Regions from separate parts of the Homo sapiens genome. Here region 2 is linked to region 1. The links are contacts of gene promoters, found by promoter capture Hi-C in human tissues and cell types (Jung and others, 2019). All regions are on one chromosome and are shown on one strand. The core of a region is centred on a gene start or on the middle of the fragment in contact, and the rest is flanking DNA. Distances in the headings are between cores, read along the strand shown. Region 1 holds the start of BIVM (basic, immunoglobulin-like variable motif containing). Region 2 overlaps BIVM-ERCC5 (BIVM-ERCC5 readthrough).

Region 1 (6,307 bases), core at 1,373-3,872:
TATCATATATGAGCATGAACACAGCTTGATTATTCTTGCTAATGTATGTCTTCGCGGAGTAAATTCTCTACTAATATGTTCCTTGCTCTTTAGCAAATCAGAATTTCCGTTCAAATCTTGAATGTCTTTTTACCAGGACTCATAACTTAGCTTTCAAGTAGAAAGCCTTTATTTTTCTTCTTTCAGTAAAAAAAAAAAAAAAAATATATATATATATATATATATCATGCCAAGTTGTTTTTGTTGATGGAATAACATATATTATTTTATTCAAATACTGCTGTTATAAAATTATATTCCAAATTACCTTTTAAAATATATGGGGATTTGGCCACATGTTGCCCTTGGAATTTAATTTCCACCTTCAGATTTTTGTAGCTTGCATACATTCTGTATCTTACTATGAAGGACCCATCTTTTCGGTCTAAAACCTGGACTCCAACTCTAGTGAATTGCTCCTCTGGTGCTGAGACTTTCACCTGGAAGACCTTTTCGCCTGGAGAAGATGTGAATCTGTGATGAAAAGGCAATGGGGGAGATAAACAGATTTTAACGAACAAACACACAAAGGTTATGCTCTTCAGTCTGGAAACTTGATTATTCTCCTCCACATTCTTCCTCTAACATATGATTGCTTCTTCTTCTCTTATGCTTTTAGTACCAGAATGAATATGATGGATCAGAGATTTAAAAAAATGAGGATGACAATGGCCAAGATAACATGAAACAGTTTCATTAAACAGTCACAATGGAGTATGTTAAGACTATTAATCTATATAAGCACAGAACATACTCATGCATTCCATATGGAAAAATATTCTTACTAACTTATTTCATGCTATCACATCTGGATATTTGTGATCAAATGATGCTCCCAAAGATAATGATCTTATTTTGAAAAATCTCTGCCAATGAATCTTTACAATATCAGTATTATAAATCACGCTCAGGCCTGGCACTGTGGCCCATGCCTACTATCTCAACATCTTGGGAGGCCAAGGAGGGAAGACTGCTTGAGGCCAGGAGTTCGAGATCAGCCTGGGCAACAAGGTGAGATCCTGTCTCTACAAATAATAATAATAATAATAAAAAACAAATAGCCAGGCGAGGTGGCACACGCCTGTAGTCCCAACTACTAGGGAGGCTGAGGTGGGAGGATAGCTTCAGCCTGGGAGGTTGAGGGTACAGTGAGCTGTGATTGCACCACTGCACTCCAGACTAGGCTAGGAAGTGAAACCCTGTCTTAAAAAAAAAAAACTCACGCTCAGCCATGGGCAAAAGCAAAGTAGTAGGTAGTGTATCATCTTTTGCCAAATAACAAAATTTACAACCTGCCTTTTACTTGACAACCTTTTATTCCAGTATTTTTTTCTGTATGAAATACACACAGTCAGCATCCACCAATAATAGAGACAATCATTTCAGAAGTATAGGAATTATAAAAATAAGTTTTAAGTATGATGTTAAAGTATTAAATTCATTGGAACAAAATATTTGTTACAATCATATAGGAGATTAATACTTCGATACTTTCCTTCCGAACTCTGAAGTTTCAAATAGTACTTCATTTTTCTTTTTCAGTTTCAAAACATGCTTACCTGCAGATGTCTCCTTGAAAATTGAGGGCCGCACCAGAGAAAGATGAAGCCCATCAAGTCTCTAACAACTAGGTTTAAATCCCTTATAATAGCTTATGCGAAAAGTAGTTAGAAACAGTATTTCCAGCAAAGTGGAGGGACTTTGTCTTGCCCTGATAATGTGGGAATCTGAATCAAAATTGCTAGGAGATTATTTTATATGTTATATACAATACATTATATTGCATATATTATAATTCGGAACAATTTCTACAGCTACAGAGAAAAATGGGTAACCAAATATCCTGGAATATAAACTGCTGTGGAGAAACGAGTTCTTGGAAAGAAAAATCTTAAAGGGAGAAACAGATTTAACCGCCATCCAAAATAGGTAAGGAGCCGTTTCTCGACTTACTTATTCCCTGATGTATCCACTGCCTGAATATAGAAATAGCGGGCGGGAAGGACGACGTCTGCTTTTAGCCCGGGTCCCCATATTTCGCTCTTCTCCGGGCTCAGCTGCCTTTCTCCGCCGGTCTCGGCGAGTGCTGGAACTGTCGCCAGAAAGAAGCAATAAAGTAGCAAAGTGCCAAACATTTACAAGACGGACTCTCGAAATGATCCACCGATAAATGAAGAAGTGTAAGAGGTGGACAGAAGCAGCCGAGCCTTCGGCAGGGACCCGCCGGCCGATCGCAGCAGCCAACGCGACTGCAAAGGTTGCCGCCCGGCGTGCAGGGCAGGCGCGCGGGTCTCCGCGACCCCAGGACAATCAAAGCCCGTGCCCCGGCGCGCCCAGGTGAGGGTCCCCTGGCGTTCTGCTGTCCCGGCCGAGAACCGCGCTGCTCCTCTCTCTCAGGACAATGATGAACTTGAGTTGCTCCTGCCACTGGAGCATCATTTGGGAGCGAATCCGTCTCAGGTTCCAGCCAAGGTGTAGGGCGAGGGGATTGGCCCGTGCGTCGGGCCAGGCTCAGTAACGCCTTCTCCAAGTGGATGGCGGGGTGGACACGCGTCCCGGCGCCCCGGGCTCCCTGGGATATGTAGTTCGCGACAGGACGAGCGGAAATACTGCCAGGATTTTACCACCTCTCGCCCATTTATTTACTTCTCGGTCACCGCTTTCGGGGGACAGATAAACACCACAGATGCCCATCAAAGGGGCGCACGGGTCTGGAGGCGCAGCTCAGGTTTTTGCGTTGGTCACCCTGCCCTCCGCACGTGGAGAGGGCAGGCATAAAGCACCTTGAAAGGAAGGTGCTGTCAATGCTATCCGACGACCTGTCGCCGGGCACCGCAGCATCCTCGCTCGCTCCGATGGGACGAGGGACGCCGGCCCCAGGGTAACAGGAGGCGCCTCGCCGGCCGCGCGCTGGATGCTGTGATCCAGGTCCGGAGCCGGGTTCCGCCGCGGCCGCAGCGACCCGACCCCACCCGACAGGCCAGAGGTACCCCGGGGCGGGGGGCAGGGGCCGAGGTGGCGGCCGGCTGTGCGCTCTGAGCGCCTGGCCCTCCGCTGGGCACCTGGGCGCCGCCAGCCCGGCCTGCTGCCGCTCTACGCGCAGCCACCTGGGCATTCAAAATTTTTACTTAATTCGATACCGGCCTGGGCTGCCAGGGGTCATCGCCTCTCCGAGCCCCGTGGCGTCCAGATGGAGGCCACTGCATGGGTGCGCGCTCTCCCGGGAAGGAGTAGGGGGAAGAGCTGTGTCGCGGGGGGAAGAGAAGCGCCAGGGAAAGAAGGGCCTAGCCCTCTGGTGAACAAAGCTCGATTAGGAGGTGTCCATGTGGATACCGGTGACCCCTGTGCGGCCGTCGGTCTCCACGCCACGCTGGGCAGGGTCCGGGAACCAGCGCGCAGCGGCCGTCGCCTTCCCCTGCACGCCAGCACCCGGGTCTGGGCCGCCGCCAGGAGTCACGGGCTCACCGCCCTGGTCAGCTTGGCAGTCGGACCCGGAGCCGCCTCCTCTGCCTGCCTCCCTCTTGCCAGCTGCCCCGAAAACCCAGAAGAGCCGGTGGCTCCGAGCCAAGGCGGGCCTGGTTCGGCGCCAGGAAAGGGGGTTTCTTTCCTATTTTCTTTTGTGCAATTGTCATTATTAATGATACCGACTCGTTTACTCAAACAGTCGAATCGGAGCCCCAGCTCTTAGCCCGGATGCAGCAATTGCCCGTGGGCCCCCTTTAACACCAACAGCGTCCCCGGGGCCCGGGGCAAGCATGTTCGAGGCGGTCACCCCCGGGCCTCGGCGCGCTCCCCCTGGCGGAGAGCCTCGTCTTCCGGCCGGTGAGGGAAGGTAGAGGAGGGAGTAGGGGCGAGGAGGCCTCGGCGGCCCTTGGGCTCTGCGGGCTGGGGACTCGGGGTGCCCGCGACACGCGCGGAGGCGCGGGCTGGGTTGGCCACGGGCAGGGAGCGCAGCCGCGCTCCTTCCTCTCTGCCCGCGTCGCCTCCGCGCGCACTGGTTCTGCGCGGCGGGGCTTGGCCTGCGCGACTGTCTACTCCGTCCCGGCGGCCTCGGAGCCCGGCCGAGCGGCGAGCTTGTCAGAGGACGGTGGTGGAAACGCTCCCGGCCTCCCCAGGGGCGCGGGCTGGAGGCTGGCGCCAGGCGCGGAGGACTCCCGGTATCTTTTGACAGGCTGGCGCCTCGGCTCTGGGGACCCGCAGGTCTGAAGGGGAGGAAGGGGCCTGGAGGGCGCGGGAGGACACCGGGTGGGAAGGGTGGCATTAGCTCGGCCGGGGGCTATGCGCCTCTGGTTTCGCCCTCCCGCGCATATTCGACCCTTACGAGGTCACCGGAATGCCCCTGCTCCTCAGTTGCCTTCTATACAGGATATCGATCAGGGTATTTTGTTATACGAAAAGGCTTTACTGAAGAGGTTTTTAGAGATGTTTGGTTCTCTCATAAACTTGATACTTGAGAATACAGACAAAATATAACCTGAAAAGACTACAACCTAGGCGATGAAGATTGGCTTTACAAATGGACGTTTATTTTACAGAACACTTCGTTCAGTGACTTTGAACAATCATGACTCTGGCGGTGCTTTTTAAACTTGCCATTTTATAAATTTTTGCTTTGCATACGAGCAAACCATATTTCTATTGCTTATGACATGATTTTATGAGTAAGCTATTAGTTGAGCCTGAGGTCCTGCAGTCATTCTTAGTAGTAAATTTTTTTTTTTTTTTTTTTGAGACGGAGTTTTGCTCTGATCGCCCAGGCTGGAGTGCAATGGTGCAACTGTAACCTCCACCTCTGGTGTTCAGCGATTCTCCAGCCTTGCCTCCTGAGTAGCTGGGCCTACACGCATGCGCCACCATGCACGGCTAATTTTGTATTTTTTTATTTTTTATTTTTTTTTAGTAGAAACGGGTCTCACCATGTTGGCCAGGCTGGCCTCAAACTCCTGACCTCAGATGATCCACCCGCCTCAGCCTCCCAAAGTGCTGGGATTACAGGTGTGAGCCACCACGCCGGCTTAGTAAATCTTAATATAGCAACACCTCACTTGCCTGGAAGAGGGAACCGCAATCAATCAAAATGAGGGCCTACAGTAATGCCTGGCATGATGCAAACACTTAAAAATTATCTGTTGAATGAGACGTCTACAAATCCTAGGCCCTGGGGATACAATAATCTGGAAAACCAGACTTGCAGGATGCAGACGTTGATCATATGAACAGATATGCACAGAAGTAAGTGTAAAATTGCCACCTGGTAAGACCTGTGTGAGGAAGGTACTAGAGTCTGTACCGGGTCACCTGGCCTAGTTTGAGAAGCCAAGAAGGTTTCCCCCAGAAAGTGACATTTGAGCTGACATTGGAAAGATGAATGGGAATGAGCTAAGTAAGGGAGACAGTATTGGGAGAACCAAAAAGTAATGTGGAGCTTGGGGGGTGGGGGAAAGGAATGAGATGGAGCTAACCAGATAGATCTAGGGACCATCAGGAGTTGGCCTTTTGTTCTAAGAGCAGAGGCTTTCAGGCAGAGGAGTTCTGTGATCATATATATGTAGCAAACTTTATTTTCTAATATCTCTGCACAGGTCAGGTTAGAAGTGTCAACTCACTGGGAATAGTTTATAAATAGAGAAACAAAAGGAGATAAAAGATGAGTCAAAACAGTGACAGCTGCAGCCTATTAAGTGGAGGGACAAACTGCCTCTCTATAGCTCAGTATTGTCTATAATGATTCTGTTATTAGTATTATCAGTAATAAATTGTGCTTAGTGTACTTTAAGAAAGCTAGAATCTGAGCATGCAATAATAGAAGCCCCCTTGGCCTCTTGGGGCTCTCACTATAGTGGAGAGAATAGACGTGAGACAGTGTGGAAAGAAAGTAAACACTAGCAGTGTTTGGGTCGTGGGATTTGGGTAATTTCCATTTTCCTGTAATATCTTTTGGTACTTTGCATTTTTTTGTAATGTTTTACTTATAAAATCTATGAATATTACATTTTCAAAGAGAAATTTACATATAGTTTCCAATGAGAATGTTTCATGCCCTTGGATTTTAGTGACAGTCAATATAAAATGCATCCTTATATTGATGATCTTCATTTTTTTTTTGCTAAAACTTCGACCAAATAAATCATCTTGTTCCGTGACCATTATTTAAAAGCAAACAAACTAAAAACACAAACAAACCAGACTGTTACTTTTTTCTCTCTTTCCTTTTTTTTTTTTTTTTTTGAGACAGAGTCTTGCTTTGTTGCCCAGGCTAGAGTGCAGT
Region 2 (6,451 bases), core at 2,502-5,001, 58 kb after region 1:
TTAAACAGTCCAAATGACAGCACCCATTTGGATATATGACTTTTATTTGTTGAAAATACCAAAGTAATGAAATGATGACTTTGTAATCATACCAGATACTCTCTAAATGAGGATATAGGATAAAAGTAAGGATATAGGATAAAAATAAAAAGCATTTATAAATGCTGGGGGACCTTTGTTGCCTCAGTAAGAGTGTCTAGTCTTGAATGTTGCAGTTTTCAGTTACCCAAGGCATACTGTAAATCAGGTACTTTGTGGAAGGATTAGAAAGGAAAAGAGAATATCTTGGTTATTTTTATCCGATATTCAGCCATAAGCACAGGGACTATCCATTTGTCACTACTTGAACATTTCTTACAAGATATTTCTATACATTTTAGAATTTCTCATGATATATAATCTTGAATATTGAAGGGCAGAATTACATGTAAGTAATGCATGTTTATAAAAAGCAATATTAGAAATTGTTTTTGGTGTCACTGTGACATTTTATAGAATAAATAAATAATTTCTTTTGGGAAGCATTTAAGCTTTCCACTTCTTGGGCATATTAAAAGACATTTAAAAGAAACTGAAAGTAAATTAAGTTTCCCAAATATATTGTGTAGTAGCCCATTAAGTAATAGATGGAAACTCTGGGTGTCCTTTACGTAGCAGCAACCTGAAGATATACACTGATATGGCAATTAGGAGGAAATGCTAAAGCAGCCATAGTCTGAAAACTCAGACAAACCAAATTCTCTGGAAAATAAATCACAGCAATGTTTCTAGTGGTCTAATATCCTGAAGTGAGATCTTACATCCTTTCTTCTCATAGGTGAAGAGAAGGCAGAGAAAGGACTTAGCGTCCAGTGACTCCAGGAAAACGACAGAGAAGCTTCTGAAAACATTTTTGAAAAGACAAGCCATCAAAACTGCCTTCAGAAGCAAAAGGCAAGAGGAAAATTATAGTCGTGTTAGAGATGAAGTTTTAAAAAAGTGATTTTTGTCTTGATTTCCTGCGATTCTCTTTCCCTATCTAATTTTGACTCTCAACAGAAAATAGAGAGTGAAATGAGACAAGTAGGCTGCCATTTTGACCTGGTAATTTGGAGTTGTGGCAATTCTCCGTTCTGTGAGAATCAACTTTGCTAATGAGAAAAAAAAGCTGTCGTGTTGCGTCATGTACACTTTTTACTTTGATTATGGTCTTCTTGACTCTAGGTGAGCAGCCCCGCCAAGGTTCCTTCCTTTCTCTCGGCTGCATTTATTTTCCACAGCAGTGGCCTGAGAGCAGCCAGGTCAGGTCCCTGTTCACCATCCTGAGCAGGGTCTGCATAATCTGTTTAAAGATTTGTGTACTTTCCAGAGATGAAGCACTACCCAGTCTTACCCAAGTTCGAAGAGAAAACGACCTCTATGTTTTGCCTCCTTTACAAGAGGAAGAAAAACACAGGTAAATGTTTAACTATTTAAGAATATTATTTTAGTCATTGCTACATTCAGACACATTTAAACCTTGATGTGTTATCTACATGATAAGGCATGTGAACATTTCTTAATGCATCTGAAATAGGCATGCTCTATACCTTTCAGAATATTTTTCAAAGACTAAATTTTTTATTTACTATTCTTTGTGTTTTGGTGATTCATGATTCTTATTCCTCTTCATTCTAAAGAACTTCTGCCAGGGCTGTGGATTCTAAATTCTCCAAGGCATGAATTTTAGTTTTGCTTACACTTTGCTTACACATGCTGTCTCTAGCTGCTTTTCAATCCAGTATGGTCTCTCTCACCATGATGCTAAAATACCACAACCCATGACATTCTTGTTGCTAAATCTAGCAGACGCTTTGCACGTCTTAGTGTGCTCGACTTCTCTGCACTAAACACCATGCCACACTGCCCCGCTCCCCCGGCATCTCTCTGGCGCTTTCTGCTCAGCCTCTCTGTGGACTCCTCTTCCTCTGTCTCTCTCTTAATGGTTGGTGGTTTCTGTGTTTGAAGTGAAGGTGGAGAACCGGAAGCTTGGCAGTTTGCCTTTGTCCCCTGTCCTTCCCTCCACCTCTTCCTTTCCCAGGAGTTCCCAAGAGACAACTTAGCTTTTGTATCAGCTCAGTTCTATTTGTCTCCATTGCTACCACTGTCATTTTTTCTCCAGGTTACATTATTAGCTTTTAAACTTCTTTCTGTCTTTGTCTTTGATCATACCCTTTTTGTAATAGTTCCTCCCACCAAGCCCAATCTCTGTTTTGTGTTATAGTCTGTTTAAAATCCAAATCTGATATTGTCATTTCCTTACTTAAAACACTTTCTAGCTTCTCCTTCTCATTTTTTTCTTTCTTTTTTTTTTGAGATGGAGTCTCTGTTGCCCAGACTGGAGTGCAGTGGCACAATCTCAGCTCACTGCAACCCCTGCCTCCTGGGTTTAAGCGATTCTCCTGCCTCAGCCTCCGGAGTAGCTGGGATTACAGGCACGTGCCACCACACCTGGCTAATTTTTTGTATTTTTAGTAGAGACGAGGTTTCACCATGTTGTCCAGGCTGGTCTCGAACTCCTGACCTCAAGTGATCCACCTGCCTCGGCCTCCCAAAGTGCTGGGATTGCAGGCGTGAGCCACCACACGCAGCTTAGCTTCTCATTTCTTTAGGATAAAACTTTAACTCCTTAATTACACTTTCCAGTCTTATCCCTGCCTTTCTTCACATCATCCACAGGCAGGCTTTCTTTTCCTTGTTTCTATATGGTCATACAACTTAGTTCTTTTGCCTGGAACACTCTTCTCCATGAACCTTCCCGCTCCCTACAACTACACTCATTAATTCGTGGCTAACTCCAACCAGTGTAATTGCAGGAGATCCTGGAAAGCTTTTGTGACTCCTAAATTGGGTGAGGTGACTCCCTATTGCATCTCTAGTGACCTGCCCTTCCCTTGTGGTGGAAGTTATTAGATCCCACTCTAATTGCTTACTTACACGTGTCCCCCACCAGACCATGAGACCAGTAGTGGCACAGATCTTGCTGTTTTATTCACCACTGTAGCCCGTATAACGAGCAGAGCCTTGCATACAAGTATTTTTGTAAGGGGTCCTTAAAAATCATAGATATCGTAAAAGTATGTTTGACTTTCAGTTCAGAAGAGGAAGATGAAAAAGAATGGCAAGAAAGAATGAATCAAAAACAAGCATTACAGGTATTTAGATCATTTTTGAATTCAGAATGTATTCTGTTATTTGAAATGAATGACATGAAAATGAATATTAATGAGGTATATCAAACTGTGAAAGTTCCTGATAAAAAGTAAAGACAGATGGCTTTTTGGTTGTGCATATATATGTGTACATGTATGTATTTAAAACACACTCACCTACACACGTGTATATATATATATATGGAATTTGCCATTATGCACATCTATATATTCAAAACAAGCTATTTTTCTTTTACAACCAACCAACCAATAGTAATATGTGCTTACATAGAAAATATAGAAAACATATCATTCATAAATAACTTGTAATAACAGTTTGATATATTTTCATCCATTCTTTGCCTGCCCCATATAGTTGAATATCTGTGTGTGTATTTGTATATATGTATCAAATGTGCATGTGTACATATATATGTGTACACATATGTGTGTATGTTCTAGTTATCTGTCGCTGTGTAACTTAGTGGTTAAAACATCATTTGTTATCGTCATCTGTCTGGGTTCCAGGGGTAGATGAGCTCAGACAGGCAGTTCTCTCTGGGGTCTCTTGTGTAGATGCAGCCAGTCTGTAGCTGGGGCTGGAGTGATTAACGAGGTTTCCTTGCTGCCATGGGCGGTGGTTGATGCTGGCTGTCAGCCAGTCTTCCATGCGGCCAGCACCAGAGCACCTACTTGTGGCCTCTCCACGTGGCCTGGGCATTTTCCCAGCATGATGACTGTATTCCCAGTGTGGGCATCCCAAGAGAAAGTTCTAAGCAGAAGCCCTGTTGCCTTTCTGACCTAGCTTTGGAAGTTGTGCAGCATCCTTCCCACTACATCCTGTTCCTCAGAAGCTAGTTACTGCCCTATGGAAGGGGCAGAGAGTTAGACAAGAAGAATGTCCCACACATATTTTCATGAATAACATTTTTACAAATTGAGATTATGCTGTATATATACATTTTTTTCATAAACATTTTTCAAGTTTCTTAGTGTCACAGATAGCATTTTTTGATTCCCAAATTCACTGTTTCTTGTTTGTTCATATGGTTTTGTTCTATCAGGTAGAAACTTTTGAGCTAAAACCTCGAGATCCTTCAGGTTGCGGAGGTGCTGTGCTATTAATGCAGCTAGTGAGAGCAATCTTAGTTAAGACCATGGGCCTCGTGGTCAAAAAGACCTGCGTTTCAGTCCAGGCTCCACTGTTCACTAGCTGTGTGATCTTACACAGATTAAATTCTCCAAGGCTTTATTTTTTTTTGTAAAACGAAATTGATATCAATGCCTTCCTGATGGGGGTGATGGGAGCATTAGTGAGGGAAAGCACAGGAAATGCTGAGCGCAGTGACAGGTCTGTCCTACGTGTTTGCTGGTTGGTACGTACACATGTAACATACAGACATGCAGGACATCAGGTTGTATTAGCTTATCTTTTTTACTAATGAAGGATTTTAAAGTACTTTTGGTAATGAGTTAAAGTTGAGAAAAGTTTTACACTTTTCCATGTCTTCTGTGAATTTCTTTTAATTTCATTTCTTATGTTATAAGCAAAATAAAACTAACTTAATTATGGGAATGATATATATTGCTTGAATTCCTAAGGCACATTCTGTCTTGGGTTCTTGCATTTTCTGTTCTCTCAGCCTGAAATGCTCTATCCTCAGTGAGGCTCTTTGATATCTTCCAAGTCCCTGCTCACACATCCTCTTTTTAGTGGGGTCTTCTTTATCTATCAAATAGATCTTTTTTTCCACGTTCTGTTCATGTAATCACTCTCATATCAGATAAATCTGCTTTATTTTACCATTATCTTGTTCATTTATTTATTTATTTATTGTCTTCTCTCCTCTGCTCCTAAGAGCAGGGACCTTATCTGGCACCTTATCCGATCTCACAGTACCTTAGCACCTAGAACAGTGCCTGGTGCCTTAGAGGTACCTGCTAAGTATTTTTTTCTTTTGAATGAATTAAAGAGTGAATGGCTACATTCCCTAATTTGCCTACTCACTTTGTTGCCTGTCACAGATTATATGCAACTGTGTTTAGCCAATTGTTGATTATGTAGAACTGTGTTTATTATATAAACATAATACATATCCTTAATGTTGAATAGAACTAAGTGTATGAAATGTAAATTTCATGGTGCTGTGATTTTATCTTTACAGGAAGAGTTCTTTCATAATCCTCAAGCGATAGATATTGAGTCTGAGGACTTCAGCAGCCTGCCCCCTGAAGTAAAGCATGAAATCTTGACTGATATGAAAGAGTTCACCAAGCGCAGAAGAACATTATTTGAAGCAATGCCAGAGGTGAAATATGCAACAGTACATTCATGCTTAGAATTAAGAACTTCAGCAAAACTTTTTATTAGAAAGAAGAGAAAATTGATAAGCAATACTTACACGATATCTCAGTTAACAGTAAACAGCATTTCTACATCTCAGATTCTAAGAAGCATCGTATATTTATACGTTTGAGCCTATAGACATTTACTCTAAGAAGTTTTTCTTGACTTTTGACCCGAGACTAGGTCTTTTTTCCTGGTCTTTGTTCTCACAGCACCCTGTAATATCACTTCATAGTTCTTAGTTCCAAAACACGCTTATCTTGCTCACCTCTGTATTTTCAGTGTCTAGCTCAGTATTTTTCACATGGTATGTGTCCAGTAGATGCTTACTGACTCAATTCTTAGGTTAGGTCATAAAAGTTATTGTAACCTATAATATACATTGTCTATAAAAACTAATAGTCATATAGAATCTAATCACAATGGAAAAATAAGTTCTAAATTGAAATTCCAGGTATATCTTCCTCTGCTGCAGCCCTAGAGATGCCATTGGCTCTCCACATTCCCTTGCCCTCTTCCTGGACAGTGCGAATGGGGCTTCTTCACCTTGGAACATCTTGTAGCTTGGCAGGCCCAGAAAGCTAGAGTGGAGGTGGTATGTGCAGTTGGGTGCTAGCAAATGTGTCTCCTGATCATGCTGCCATTGATACTTAATTCATGTTACTATTGATGACTCCCTGTCTTAGTTGCCAGTGAGTGAGTTCTTTTTCTCTTTCTGTTGCTGCTACCTGTTATTTCTACCGTAGTTCTCCATTCACCCACTATAGGACAGAATCGAAATTTTGCAGCATCATCGACCTTAGTGCATAGATGGAGTGTTTTTTTATTTTCTACAATTTTTGAATATTGCTTAAATTGATAGCAGAAATATGAAAAAGGAAGGGTAAATTTCTTTTCTCATCACTCCCTGTTTTTTCCACAAAGAATGTGCAGT

What was found. The method cuts DNA at HindIII sites, captures the fragments that hold promoters and counts their contacts. A contact is called where the count stands out against the background at its distance.
Region 2: a contact is called between a fragment that was not itself captured here and the fragment with the promoter of BIVM in region 1, in 2 of the 25 tissues and cell types used here (H1 embryonic stem cells and pancreas).

What each region holds. Positions count from the first base shown.
Region 1 is chr13:102,796,497-102,802,803 of GRCh38, forward strand. BIVM (basic, immunoglobulin-like variable motif containing) reads left to right here and starts at 2,623. Exons shown (of 11, transcript NM_017693.4): 1 at 2,623-3,025. POGLUT2 (protein O-glucosyltransferase 2) reads right to left here and starts at 2,480. Exons shown (of 10, transcript NM_024089.3): 1 at 1,993-2,480; 2 at 308-513. The coding sequence starts at 2,174. RefSeq lists an enhancer at 2,630-2,849 and silencers at 2,910-3,179, 3,740-3,789, 3,820-4,249. The HindIII fragment of the contact is 13,413 bases long and covers 1-6,307 here.
Region 2 is chr13:102,852,940-102,859,390 of GRCh38, forward strand. BIVM-ERCC5 (BIVM-ERCC5 readthrough) reads left to right here. Exons shown (of 23, transcript NM_001204425.2): 11 at 818-933; 12 at 1,349-1,435; 13 at 3,113-3,173; 14 at 5,336-5,479. ERCC5 (ERCC excision repair 5, endonuclease) reads left to right here. Exons shown (of 15, transcript NM_000123.4): 3 at 818-933; 4 at 1,349-1,435; 5 at 3,113-3,173; 6 at 5,336-5,479. Among named protein-coding and RNA genes, the nearest start is that of ERCC5, 10 kb to the left of the region's middle. The HindIII fragment of the contact is 6,096 bases long and covers 704-6,451 here.